Regions from separate parts of the Homo sapiens genome. Here all the other regions are linked to region 1. The links are contacts of gene promoters, found by promoter capture Hi-C in blood cells and fetal thymus (Javierre and others, 2016). All regions are on one chromosome and are shown on one strand. Each heading gives the region's core, a stretch centred on a gene start or on the middle of the fragment in contact. The rest is flanking DNA. Distances are from core to core; before and after follow the strand shown. Region 1 holds the start of GPRC5D-AS1 (GPRC5D and HEBP1 antisense RNA 1). Region 2 has its middle 62 kb from the start of EMP1. Region 3 has its middle 10 kb from the start of EMP1.

Evidence for each region. Contacts are between HindIII fragments. The CHiCAGO score rates a contact against its expected background, and 5 or more counts as called.
Region 2: a fragment that was not itself captured here is called in contact with the fragment with the promoter of GPRC5D-AS1 in region 1 in 2 of 17 cell types (M1 macrophages and monocytes); the score reaches 5.5 in M1 macrophages.
Region 3: a contact is called between a fragment that was not itself captured here and the fragment with the promoter of GPRC5D-AS1 in region 1, in 1 of 17 cell types (monocytes). The highest score is 6.3, in monocytes.

The regions. Positions count from the first base shown.
Region 1 is chr12:12,925,367-12,929,766 of GRCh38, forward strand. GPRC5D-AS1 (GPRC5D and HEBP1 antisense RNA 1) reads left to right here and starts at 2,360. Exons shown (of 3, transcript NR_149067.1): 1 at 2,360-2,437. The HindIII fragment of the contact is 5,226 bases long and covers 275-4,400 here.
Region 2 is chr12:13,256,334-13,260,733 of GRCh38, forward strand. No RefSeq gene overlaps it. Among named protein-coding and RNA genes, the nearest start is that of EMP1, 62 kb to the left of the region's middle. RefSeq lists an enhancer at 436-1,302. The HindIII fragment of the contact is 2,446 bases long and covers 893-3,338 here.
Region 3 is chr12:13,184,179-13,188,578 of GRCh38, forward strand. No RefSeq gene overlaps it. Among named protein-coding and RNA genes, the nearest start is that of EMP1, 10 kb to the right of the region's middle. RefSeq lists enhancers at 1-384, 385-885. The HindIII fragment of the contact is 6,638 bases long and covers 1-4,400 here.

The DNA of each region.
Region 1 (4,400 bases), core at 1,110-3,609:
GATGTCCTTTCACTCAGAGAACACAGCCCTCAGGTTCTTCTCTTGTCTATTCTGGTGTCTTGAATGCCAATTTGTCTTCAAATAATTTTGATGAATTTCAGCTGATCAACCATCAGATTTTTGTGTGTGTTTCCATATAAGAACACTTAAATCCAGTGTGATAAAAGCAACTTACAAGCCCGAGGCTTGGAAGAAAGGAAAGGAATTTTTTACTTCTTGGGCTGAATACATTTCATCACATCCCAATTTATTTCCCTGAGGCTTTTCTTTGTCAAGCTTGGGAAAGTGCTGTTTCCTAGGAGAACCACACAAGAACAAACTTTAAATATGAGAAAAGAGAAAAGCACACCCCAAAGCAAAACAAAACAAAAAAAACCCCCAAAAACAATAAGAGAAGCATTTTAGATGGATTTTCTCCAAAGATCGATTGCATTGTGTTCCAAACGCATTTCTTTTCTTTCTTTTTTAAATTTTTTTTGAGATGAAGTTTCACTCTGTTACGCAGGCTGAGGTGCAGTGGCATGATCTTGGCTGACTGCAACCTCCACCTCCTGGGTTCAAGTGATTCTCCCGCCTCAGCTTTTCAAGTAGCTTCAGGTGCCCACCACCATGCCTGGCTAATTTTGTATTTTTAGTAGAGATGGGGTTTCACCACGTTGGCTAGGCTGGTCTCAAACTCCTGACCTCAAGTGATCCACCCGCCTCAGCCTCCCAAAGTGCTGGGATTACAGGCGTGAGTCACTGTGCCCAGTGTAAAGTGCATTTCTTTTCTAAACTGACTTGAACCAAAATGGATGAACAAGGACCCTTCAGATGATATACACCAAACTGGAAACAGATGAGAATGCCAGCAAATGGGCTCAGGAGGAATTTATCTTCTTGAATTTTCAGGCATAAGCTGATTTTGACAATGTTTTCTCTTACAAAAACAGGGTGAGCGTGTTCTGGATGGAGGCTGGGTGGGAACCCCAGGTCAGAGCAGATGTGGAACTGGGGCATGGGGAAGACTATACCCCAAAGAGGTGGGGGTGGGGAAGAAGATGAAAAGTGAAAGACGAATGTTCCCAGGGGCAGGAATTCATAAACTTTTTCCATTGATTCTGCCCTCTCAAGCCAATCACTTTCTGCCTTTTTGGACCAAATTGGGAAAGCCTGGACAGTCTGCTACAAACCAGACCAGAGCCTTTCCTTGTCAACAGAGCAGCGCTTCCTAAACTTATACTGCGTTAAAAATCACATGGGAATTTGTTAAAAATGCAGTGTCTGGAGGCCTCCTAGAGGTTCTGATTTAGTTGGTCTGAGTCAGGGTCCAAGAATTTGTATCCAGAGCAAGTATCCCGGCGATTCTTCTGCTTGGACAGGGTTGGGACAAGGCGTCGGCCAGTCATCCACATTGTCTTTTTGCAGATCCACTAATCTTCCATGCAGGCTCCAACAGCTCCTTCCCGGCCTGGGAACCCAAATCCGCAGGAAGAATCTCGGGGTGTTGTCTTGGCTTATTCATTCAGAGCTGTCGTGTGTGGTTCTGCAAACAGTACTCAGATGCGTTCCCTCTCCCCGTAGGGATCTTGCTGGAGATGCCCAGGGTTAACAGTGGAACTCCATATGGAGACAGAGGCATGGGGGGAGCTTCGCTGGAGATGGGACAGCCTGCTCCACCGCGAAGCCTACTGAGGCTCTCTTCTTACGTACCCCGCGCAATCTCATCTCCCTGAACAACTTCCACCTCCACCTTTCAGCTCATTCCCTAATGTCTGCTTCTGTTGGAACTCCACAATCTCATCTTTATCTGCCTAGGTGTGTTACAGTAGGTAGCTGTCAGGTATGAGCAGGGCAGGAGAGGGTCTGTTCCAATAGCAGGAACCTCAGGTGACCATCAGGTGATGGTCAGGCGGCTGTTAGTCTGTCGCTCTAAAATAATAATTGGTCGCAGCCGGTGCTAGGGAAAGACAGGCTCCCAGTAGATAGAAAACACCTGAAACGGGTGATAAGCAGCTTCCCGGTAAGATCTTAGCAGTTGGGCGAGTGTACTCAAGCATGAGCACTAACAGGCAGAATGCCAGAGTTTAACTGGTATATGACCTTCTAGGGACATTCGACTGATAAGGGAAGAACGCCTCACGTGAGCATGTGTACAACTCCTGCATGCGTACAAACACACTGCGCATGCTCCCCTCCCAGGCGCTGGCAGGCCACACACTGCGCATGCTCCCCTCCCAGGTGCCGGCAGGCCACACACTGCGCATGCTCCCCTCCCAGGTGCTGGCAGGCCACACACTGCGCATGCTCCCCTCCCAGGTGCTGGCAGGCCACACACTGCGCATGCTCCCCTCCCAGGTGCTGGCAGGCCACTGCGCAAGTGTGGACAGCCTACACCAAGGGAAGAGTCAGGGGAGAAGGAACACAAGACTCCGGAAGCATGCCAGCGTATAAAACCGTAAGTCAAAGGTCAGACTGTCCAGTGGGTGATCTCTCAAGTCGCCCGCTTGGCCTCTTCCAAGTGTACTTTACTTCCTTTCATTCCTGCTCTAAAACTTTTTAATAAACTTTCATTCCTGCTCTAATACTTGCCTCAGTCACTCCTGCCTTACCACAATATTTTTTAAAACAAAATCAATACCAAAAAGCCCATGATAAACAACATATCAAAATTTTATAAAAGCAGGCTGTTTGGTTTGTTTTACGACCTTGCGTTACTGCAAGAGAGGAGCCGTTTCCAATCAGGCTTTGGATCCTGGGCTTATGTGGCTGCTGTGTCCCTGCCATGGATCTGTGAGGGTTGACAATGGGGTACAAACAAATTGGGCAATATATATATACACATATATGTGTATATACATATATACACATATATGTGTATATATACATATATACACACATACATGTGTATATATATACATATATACATATATACACACATACATGTGTATATATATACATATATACATATATACACATACACATATATGTGTATATATATAATATATACATATATACACATACACATATATGTGTATATATATAATATATACATATATACACATACACATATGTGTATATATATAATATATACATATATACACATATACACATATATGTGTATATATATAATATATACATATATACACATATACACATATATGTGTATATATAATATATACATATATACATATATGTATATGTGTGTATATACACACATATATGTATATATGTATATATGTACATACACACACACACACACACATATATATAGTTTGTTTGTATTTTGAGAGGGAAGAAAGATGAAAGAAAGGGAGGGCTTAAAAAATTTTTTTTGAGACAGCATCTTGCTCTGTTGCCCAGGCTAAAGTGCAGTGGCACCATCATGGCCCACTGTTGCCTCAACCTCTCAAGCCCCATCAATTCTCCCACCTCAGCCTCCCGAGTAGTTGGAACTATGGGTGTGTGCCACCATTCTTGGGTACTTTCTAAAAAATTTATTAAAATATTTGAGACAGGGTCTTGCTTTGTTGCCAGGCTGGAGTGCAGCGGTGCAATCACAGCTCACTGCAGTCTTAACCTCCTGGGCTCAAGCAATCCTCCTGCCTCAGCTGCCTGAGTAGCTGGGTTCACAGGTACGTGCCACCACGGCCAGCTAATTTTTTTGATTTTTAGTAGAGACGGTGCCTTGCTATGTTGCCCAGGCTGATCTCGAACTCCTGGATTCAAGCAATCCTTCCGTCTTAACGTCCTAAAGTGCTGGGATTTCAGGCATGAGCCACCATGCCCAGCCTCTTGGATATTTTTATTAGATTTTTTTTTTTTTTTGTAGAGATGGGGGTCTTGCTGTGTTGCCCAGGCTGGTCTTGAACTCCTGGGCTCAAATCATCCTGCCTTGGCCTCCAAAAGTGTTGGGATTACAAGTGTGAACCACTGTACCTGGCCTTTTTATTTTTGTTTTAAAAGAGAGAAGAAAGGGAGATGGGGGGAAGGAGGCTTTATATATATATATATATATATATATATATATAATTTCTTATTTTTATTTTTTTTAGATGGAGTCTTGCTCTGTTGCCCAGGCTTGAATGCAATGGTGCGATCTTGGCTCACTGCAACCTCTGCCTCCCAGGTTTAAGCGATTCTCCTGCCTCAGCCTCCCTAGTATCTGGGATTACAGGTGTATGCCACCACACCTGACTAATTTTTTTGTATTTTTAGTAGAGATGGGGTTTCACCACATTGACCCAGCTGGTCTCAAACTTCTGACCTCAAGTGATCCACCTGCCTCCGCCTCCCAAAGTGCTGGGATTATAGGCGTGAGCCATCGTGCCCGGCTGAGGCTTAATTTTTTGATTGGAGACTTTTAAATGACGTTTTTCCACTTGGTTCAAAGCATGGGAAGATATTTTGATAAGCGCATA
Region 2 (4,400 bases), core at 866-3,365, 330 kb after region 1:
GCTCATGACCCCCTGGAACACAGCTCTGCATCTTGCAGGGGAGAGAGGGGAATCTGTATAAAAACTGTAAGCGATGTTTTACTAAAAATCCCAAAAAAGCACCTAGGTAGAAGCCTCTCAGCCTTGGGGCTCTTCCAGCGGAGTGTAGCACCAGAGGCCCTCCTAGAGCTGGCCCAGGCTGCCTGGGACTGTGGGGACGTTGCTAACGGTGGTGGTCATCATTGCACACCCAGAACTGATTTCCTGCCTGGCCCTGTGCCAAGTACTTTACCTTCATCAACTCATTTAGGTTTCAAAATAAATCTAGGAAGTAGATTCTATTTTCAGTCTCAAAATTTTACTGAAGAGGAAACTGAGGCTGACTTAACTTGTGGACAGAGCTAAGCAGTTGTTGGAAGCCAAGTGGGCCTGGTCCCAGGACACATGGCTGCCGCCCTCCTTGCCTTCCGTGCCTATTTAGGCTCTGGGAGCAACCAGGCGTGCCCATATTATTCACCCAGAGGACTGGGTGAGGTTGTGGTGGAGGGTGCTGAGCAATTCTACCTGGCTTTGCCATGAGGTCTTTGAGGTGCTCCTGGACTTGAGATAAACCTTGGGGATCTGGGTTTTGGAAACGCATCAGGTATCAGGCAGGGACCCAGAAGGAAGAAAGCAGTTAAGAGCTGTGGAGGGTAAGGTGTGCTCAGAGGCAAGAGAGGCCAGTCTGAGCTGGTGGAGGGGGCGCAGCATGAACCTGGGCAGGAGGAGTGGGAACTGGCAGGCTGGAATAACCTGGCACCCATGTTGGCACACTTGGGCACAAAGAGAACACAGTGGAGGGAGGAGAAGGTGACCTTCACTGCCCCGGGGCCCCTGAGGCCTTTGAGTTCTTCCGTCGTGGGCTCACTTGCCAAGCTTTGAGCTCTTGGTGCTGACCAAGAAGGCACAAATTGTTTATGGGCCTTGGTCAACGCCACGTGAAGATGGTATCAGAAATGAAAAAAAAATTTTTTAAAGAAGGTTGCAAAGAAACTAACATTATTGTCAATTCTCAATTATCTGTGAGGGATAAGGTTAATTGAAACACACAGATTTCAATAGCTAATAGCTTTTCTTTCTTTTGCAACCCATCTTTTACTACAGCTTCCAGAAAAAATAGCCAAAATGACTAATCAGATTTTCACACTGACTCCTTCATATCCCCCATCTGAAGTGCTGATAAGCAGTGAAATAGCCTCAGTGTGGACGCAGGAGGGAGAGGAAGGAAAAGCAGAGGTCTGGGGAACTCCCTGCCTGGAAGTGAATTTCCTAAGAAACCCAGAGCTGAGGACCAGGATATGAGGGGGAGATCTGGGCACAACAGTTGCAGCTGTCACTGAACCTCAAAGCCTCAAGGGCACCCCATAAAGCCGAATATCTTCGGAGGTGTGAAAAACAGCCTATTGAGGGGGCTTAAGGGGGAACATAGGTATACAACTGGGGTGGGCTGAACTGAGCACCAGTGAAAGAGGGAAATAAATTCAGTGACAAACTCCATGCCTCATATCATTCCTCTTCCCCTTTGTTCCTCAGGACAGTGGCTCTTGTCTGGCAAATATTTATCTAATATCTGAATTATTGGTGATGTCATGCATGCCCTTGTGTCTTAGAACATACTGTGATTTAGAACTGAAATCCTTTATCGTCCCCATTTCTGCTAAGCTGGATCTATTCTTGATGTAAAGATTTGGGATCTTGGGAAGAACATTTATATCTGAGAGGAAGGGCCTGGTGTGTAATCTCAGAAACACCCCTCCCTTTTCTTATAAGCAGGGGAAATGGGTTTTGGCTAAATAAAGGGGTTGTAAGTGAGGGTGACTGGGCAAGGGGCTGGGGACAGGGAGGGCAAGTGTTTCCCACCTTTCTTGATGGTAGGGGCTTGCCAGAGATGGAGGCAGTTGCTCCAGGGCAGGAAGAGGCAGTCTGCAGCTGGGGGAGATTAAGAAAGAGAGTGAAGCCAAGACTGCCTGGCCAGGAGAATGAGAGGCAGGGGGAGGGATGGGCTCTGTGTGGCTATAGCCTATGTTTAAACCCCTGTCTGCTGTTCAGACAGCAGCTGCCCAGAGAGAAGGCGCCACAGCCTCCCTCCTTCCTCTTGTAGCACATCGCCTGTTCTTCCTTGGCCTATGACTTTCTCACCTCTGAAAGCTGTTGCTCTGGCCTTACAGCCCAAGAGCCCAGGAGCAGTGCCCTGACCACTGCTGCGTGGTACCTCACCAGACATGCCCTTGGAGCCAAACCAAATGGGGAGTCCCAGAGCCTGCTGGGGCCGGTTGCCTGGGGCTGCATATCACCGTATATCAAAGCCGAGGAAAGAGGGTGACACCCTCAGGGGAGAGAATTCTTGAGGGCAAGCACCCACAAATGCTATTTCCATACTCTTGGTAAAACCCCCTCTTACTATTATGGGATGTGGGCAACTATGATGAAGATGAGGAGGGGGAGTTGGGCAGGAAATTTGAGCACTGTTATAATATAGAGAGGGGATTTCTATGAATTGTGAGAAAGTTTACTCTCCTGTGAGTGTGTGAGCCATTGTGCTGCTTATCTTTCTTGTGAAGTCAATAAAACTCCCTGGGATTCTATAAGCAGATGTTATCTCTGGCCATGACTTTGCTGGTCCTGAGGAGGCAAGACTTTTGAATCGCAGGGTGGGAAGTCTCAGTAGTGGTGCTGTGTTCCTGGAAAAGCAGGACTCGCAGATGGGAACGGCTTATATCCCAAGTTGTCAGGGCCTTTGGGGTTTGTCTTCCACTCCAGGAAGGGCTAGGTATGTTATTATTTGGCCGCTAATGATGCGGTCTTGGGAAAGCCACATCACCATCCCGACTTGAGCTTCTTCATCTGAAAAATGAGAGGGTTGCATACATAGTGTCAAAGGTGATCATTCACCTCTAATAGGCTTTTATTGTAAGTCTTTGGACAAACAGCTTACCTCTCTGACTCTATGTCCTTATCTACAAACGGGGATAATAATATCCACCCTTACCTTCTAATCTATGTGAAAGCACTTAGCGCTCTGGGAAGGAAAAAGCATTATTTAAATCCAGGGTAGAATTATTATTATATTCTATTTGTTCTCTCCTAGTCATTCATCATTGCTCTGCTCTACAATTATGCCCTGGGGTGAGTTATGTGAATAAACAGTCACACCTGGCAAGTTTCTTGGGAGGCTGAGCATTCTGATCGTGCTGGGGGGAAAGACACCAAAATTCTTTTATTTAGTTATTTTAGTGTGCAACTTGCTATCTATTTAGTATATAAGCCAGAACTGGAATACATTACTTTCATGCGCGTCCGTGTGAAGAGACCACCAAACAAGCTTTGTGTGAGCAATAAAGCTTTTAATCACCTGGGTGCAGGCGGGCTGAGTCCAAAAAGAGAGTCAGCGAAGGGAGATGGGGTTTTATAGGATTTGGGTAGGTAAAGGAAGGAGGGGGGTTGTTCTTTGGTGGGCAGGAGTGGGGGTCACAAGGTGCTCAGTAGGGGAACTTTTGAGGCAGGATGAGCCAGGAGAAGGAATTTCACAAGACAATGTCATCAGTTAAGGTAAGAACAGGCCATTTTCACTTCTTTTGTGGTGGAATGTCATCAGTTAAGGCAGGAACTGGCCATCTGGATGTGTACGTGCAGGTCACGGGGATATGATGGCTTAGCTTGGGCTCAGAGGCCTGACATTCCTGTCTTCTTATATTAATAAGAAAAATAAAATGAAATAGTGGTAAAGTGTTGGGACAGTGAAAAGTTTTTGGGGGTGGTATGGAGAGATAATGGGCGATGTTTCTCAGGGCTGCTTCGAGTGGGATTAGGGGCGGTGTGGGAACTTAGAGTGGGAGAGATTAAGCTGAAGGAAGATTTTGTGGTAAGGGGTGATATTGTGGGGTTGTTAGAAGAAACATTTGTCATTTAGAATTATTGGTGATGGCCTGGATACGGTTTTGTATGAATTGAAAAACGGAGTAAGATAAGGAGAAAAACAGGTATTAAAGGTCTAAGAATTTGGAGGACCTAGGACATTTAATTAGAGAGTGCCTAAGGAGGTTCAGCATAGCCTTGCCAGCAAAGATTATTTATTTACTTTAAAAGTTAAGAGTGGCAGTTTGGGGATAGCACCAGGAGATATCAGCTGTGATGGCTTAGAGAAACAGTGCAAACCGGCAGTGTAAACAAGAGCAGGGCATGTATGAGTAGTTGAGAACGGTGAATAGGAGTATGACTAGACAGAAGATAGTAGGGATGACAAGTTTTTTGGGGCACAGTCCAAGTTGGTCTGCTGTCTGGAATGAGAGCAGGGCCTAATAAAAAGGAGCGTCTATACAGGAGCCCAAATGGGCTGTACCTTGTAGCATTCTGAGGACAGGTCTGAATTCTGAGAAGGGAAA
Region 3 (4,400 bases), core at 1,157-3,656, 260 kb after region 1:
AACCAATCCATTTTCACAATCTTTCATTCATGTATAAATCGATTTTGTTCAATAAAAATAATAAAGCACGCACTATGTTTAAGCATGGCTGGCCATTGGTGAGGGTTTAGAGACAAAAGATCATTCCTGCCTTCAGGATCTTGCTGTCTCTTGGAAACAGGGAGACAGAAAAGTGAATATTGGTAAACTCAGGTGTACTTAGAGGCTGTGGGAGCTCCCCGGAGGGGCATCAGATTCACACTAGGGCTGCGGGTGTCTTCCTGGGGATGCTGGTGGCCAGGCTGAGTCTTGTAGACTAGGCCAGGCAAGGGAGAGCAGGCCAGGCAGAAGGGCATTTCATCAGGCAGGACATGGAATGCTTGGAGGTTTCAGGCTCAGGCACAGAGAGAGTTCAGTATGGCTGGGACAAAAGGCAGGGAGAAGAGGGTGACAGGCTGGTGGGCCTGAGAGACAGGGACAGTCAGACCAGGGAAGGCCTTGTGTGCTGGCCAAATAGTGGGTCCATATCCTAAAAGCAATGGGGTGCCATTGAATAGCTTGCTACAGAGGAAAGACTTAGTAGTTTTAGAAAACCACTCCGAGAGCAGGGGAGATCAACCAGGACAGGGCAGCTGGAGAGGAGAGACAGGCTAGGAAGCAATGAGAGGATCCAGGACAGTGAGCTAGAAGCAGGCTGCAGAGGGCTTGATTGGGGGAGACAGCTCTCGACACTCACTTGCCCTCCATCTCAAATCAGAAAATACATAGACTGCATTTGTTCTCATAGCATTGTCATATTTAGTTCAAACTAGTATCTCTATTTGTTTACATCTAATGCCTATTGGTTATAACAAACAGTCTACAAACAACAGTATTGGGAGCCTCAGCGGCAGGTATTCTTCAAGGTCTTTACATATGTCATGTCATTTCGTCTTCCTATCAACTTCCTGGGATAGATTTCATTATCTTCACTTTACAGATAAAGAAGTTGAGGCTCAGAAAGTTCAAGAATATGGCCAGAATTGGACATGGAGAGTGGAATAATGGACACTGGAGACTCAGAAGGCGGAGGGTGGGAAGGCAATGAGGGATGAGGAATTACTCAATGGGCACAATATGCACTGTTTGGGTGATGGTCTCACTAAATGCCCAGCTTCACTGCTGTGAAATACATCCATGTAATAAACTGCATTTGTGCTCCCTAAATCTACAAAAATTACAAACAGAAAAGAATTTGCCCAGAGTCCTTCAAAGTGACAAAGCTGGGATTCCAACCAAGCATAGCATTCTCAGTGAAGTCCCATGGTGGGTTTTTGTATTTGTTTTGAAGGGGGTGAATTCCTCCCTTTTTCACCCTCCACACTTTTTAGCTGTATGTTAGCAATCCAGGTCCTTTAAGAAATTCATTTTTATATCTTCAAATTTTCCTAATTAAATAAAGGTCAAAGATTGCACCAGGTGCTGAAATGGAGGTTTTGTAATTTGTAAAATGTTTTCATCTATGTTGCCCTTGCTGGGTCCTCCTATGTTCCACTGAGCTTGGAAAGACATTGTTTTCTCCAGATGATTGATGAGGAAACTGAGGCAGAGAAGCAGACGTCATGTGATTAAATGGCATAGCCTGTGCTATGAATTTATCCTTTGCCTTTTGTCTCTCACTGACTACACTCAGGTGGCAAATGGTATCACATGAACATTCTTTGGTGCATAAAACTGAGGGAAAATGCCATTTAACTCTCCGAATGTTTCTGCCTTGGCATCCAATGCAACTCATTCAAGAAACACGCAGTACCTAAGGTGTCCAGGTACTGGGAGTTCAAAGATGCCCAGCTCAGCCCTTAGGGAGCAAGTGGTGCACAGAAGGATGGACACAGGGGAGCTGAAGGTGCGACAGGGTGGTAAGTGGCATCCCAGAGGTGTGGCCAGAACAAGCCAGCTCCTGGGGTGGGGTTACTCATTGTGCCTAGGGCGAGGTGGAAGGAAGAGATGGCCCCACAGAGGAGGTGACATTGAGACTGGCTGTGGAGGTAGAACAGCATTTCTTTAGGGAAAGAAGGGCAGAGACAACAACATCAACAGGATCACTGGTTAAGTCTTTGCTATGTGCCAGGCCCTGTGTTAAGAACTTCAGAGATATTATTCATTTGCTACTTTCAATAACTCTATAAGGCATCAACTGGTATTAGGCCCATTTTATAGATGAGGAAATGAAGGCTTAGGGAGGATTTGCACCTAGGCAGTCCGATTCCAGCTCATTCTCTCAACCACCGCAGCACAGGGCAAGCACTCAAGCTAGAGAACAGAGCTTGAGCAACACCTCAGAGGTGTAAAGGTGCCTAGCTCACTCAAGGTGCAGGGTGGATGCAAGGAGGGAGGAGGGCATAGGCCTGAAAGGGGGGTGGGGCCAGTGTGCCATGGGCCTTGCGTGAGTTTATCTTCCCAGCAAAGTTAGATAGCAGTCATGTGATCCGATCTGATTGGGTCTGTGTTTCATCTAGATACTCTGGTGCCACAAACTCAGTGCCTACAGGGGGCCAGGCCCATAAGGCAAATGAGGCAAGCAGGCCAAGCGAGAAGGAGGGGATGTTTGGCAAAGCAAAATTTTATTTGAAATGTCCTGATTTTAAAATATAGGAGACTAATTCAGATTCCTTTTTTAGAACACTTTCAGGACCAAACAAACTATGTGTGTGGGCTGCAAGTTTGCTACTGCTGACATGGAGGATGGATTGGAATAGAGAGAGCTCAGAGGCAAGGGGCTCAGTGTCAGGAGCCCATTGTAACAGTCTAGACAGAGGAAGAAGACTGGAGCATAGGCCACAGCATAGGGAGGAAGTGGAGGGGTCAGGCCTGAGATAGATTTTAAGTAGATTAAATAATATTAGTTGACTTTGAATGTGGAGAGTGGGAGAGGGAGGAGTAAAGGTTGACCTGGTAGATGATGGAGCCATTCATTCATTTAATTTTTGGACAATTATTTATTGAGTACCTACTATATCCAAGATATGGCCTGAGGAGCAGAGCTACCACAAGGAATAAGACACGATACCTTGCTGTGAAGAAGCTCTGAATCTACTGAGAAGGTCTGTTGAAAGATAAGGTCTGTTGAGAGATTTGGGGGCATGTAGGAAGAGCACCCACCCTAGTCTGAAGCAGCAGGGTGTTAGGGAAGGCTCTGCTGATGCAGGAGAAGTGCAGGTGTGAGAGAGAGGGGCACACATTGGATTTTGGATTTGTTGAGTTGGGTTTTAGCTACAGCCCAGGTTGTTCTGTGATCTGATACCACTGCTCTGTGATGCTTTTAGTTTCATGACACGTTAAGAGTCCAGACAGCTTGCTCACTCATATGACACATTCCTTTCTTGAGGTCATGCATTCCCCGTATCCTCTTTTAAGATACTTGGCATACATGTGTATACTGCTGAGAGTGTAGCAGATGCTGGCGTTACTGTCAACGTCCATTTCTTTCCTGGGTCCCTGCCCACTTGTCATCCATCTTAGGTGTTGCAATATTTGCAAGGTGAACCTGGGCTTGTTTGTTTAGATTACTCATTGCTGTTGTGGAGAATGATCTGCTTTCTTTCAGGTATTATGATTATCATATGGTGGATTAATTAGGAGGAAGACACCCTGTGCAGTTCATCACTCCACCTCCTGTCTGAGAGTGCCACACATTCTTTATTCAAACCTGGGCAAGGTTTTGCTTCATTCATTGAACACACATTTGTTGGGCACCCATCATGTGCCAGGCACTGTTCTAGGTGTTTGGGTTGCATTCGTGAACAAAGAAGGGCTCTTACCCTCATGCAGCCTTGCTTTCCTGCAGCCTAAATGATTTGTTCATGTTTATTTCTGTGTTGCTCTTTTGGGATGTGCACAGATGTGTGGCCCCCTCCCAGCCAGAAGAATGTTCCCACCAGTCCCCTCTCAAGTGAGGCTGTGTTCCCCATCATCTGAGGCTGTCCATTCTGTTCCCCTAATATGAATTGTCTGCAGCATGGCAGCTCTTTACCTTGGCTGTTGAAATCTCCACTGTACCAAACAAAACCTTAAATACTTTGCCCAAGTTCTAAATATCACCGTTCCTCTATATACTCTGAAAACAATTTATGTTCTTCTGATAAGATAATTTAACTGTATCCTTAAACCAGACCCTTTATCCTTCCCATGGATCTACTCACCAGATGCACACCTTCTGTCATAAAGCCCTTGTGGTCTTTTGTTCTCTGTCCTCAGCTAAAAGTCCTTCCTACGGGAAAGTGTTCAGATAGACCCAAAAGGGGCCTGGAACTCAGGCTTGAGCTGGTACACTGGTATGGATTTGGCAGAGCAGGATACTCAAGAAAACTTTTCTGGGGAGGTTGGTTTTCACCAGGTCACCTGGGATGCAAAGATAACCTGGGGATGAGGAGCCAAGAGGC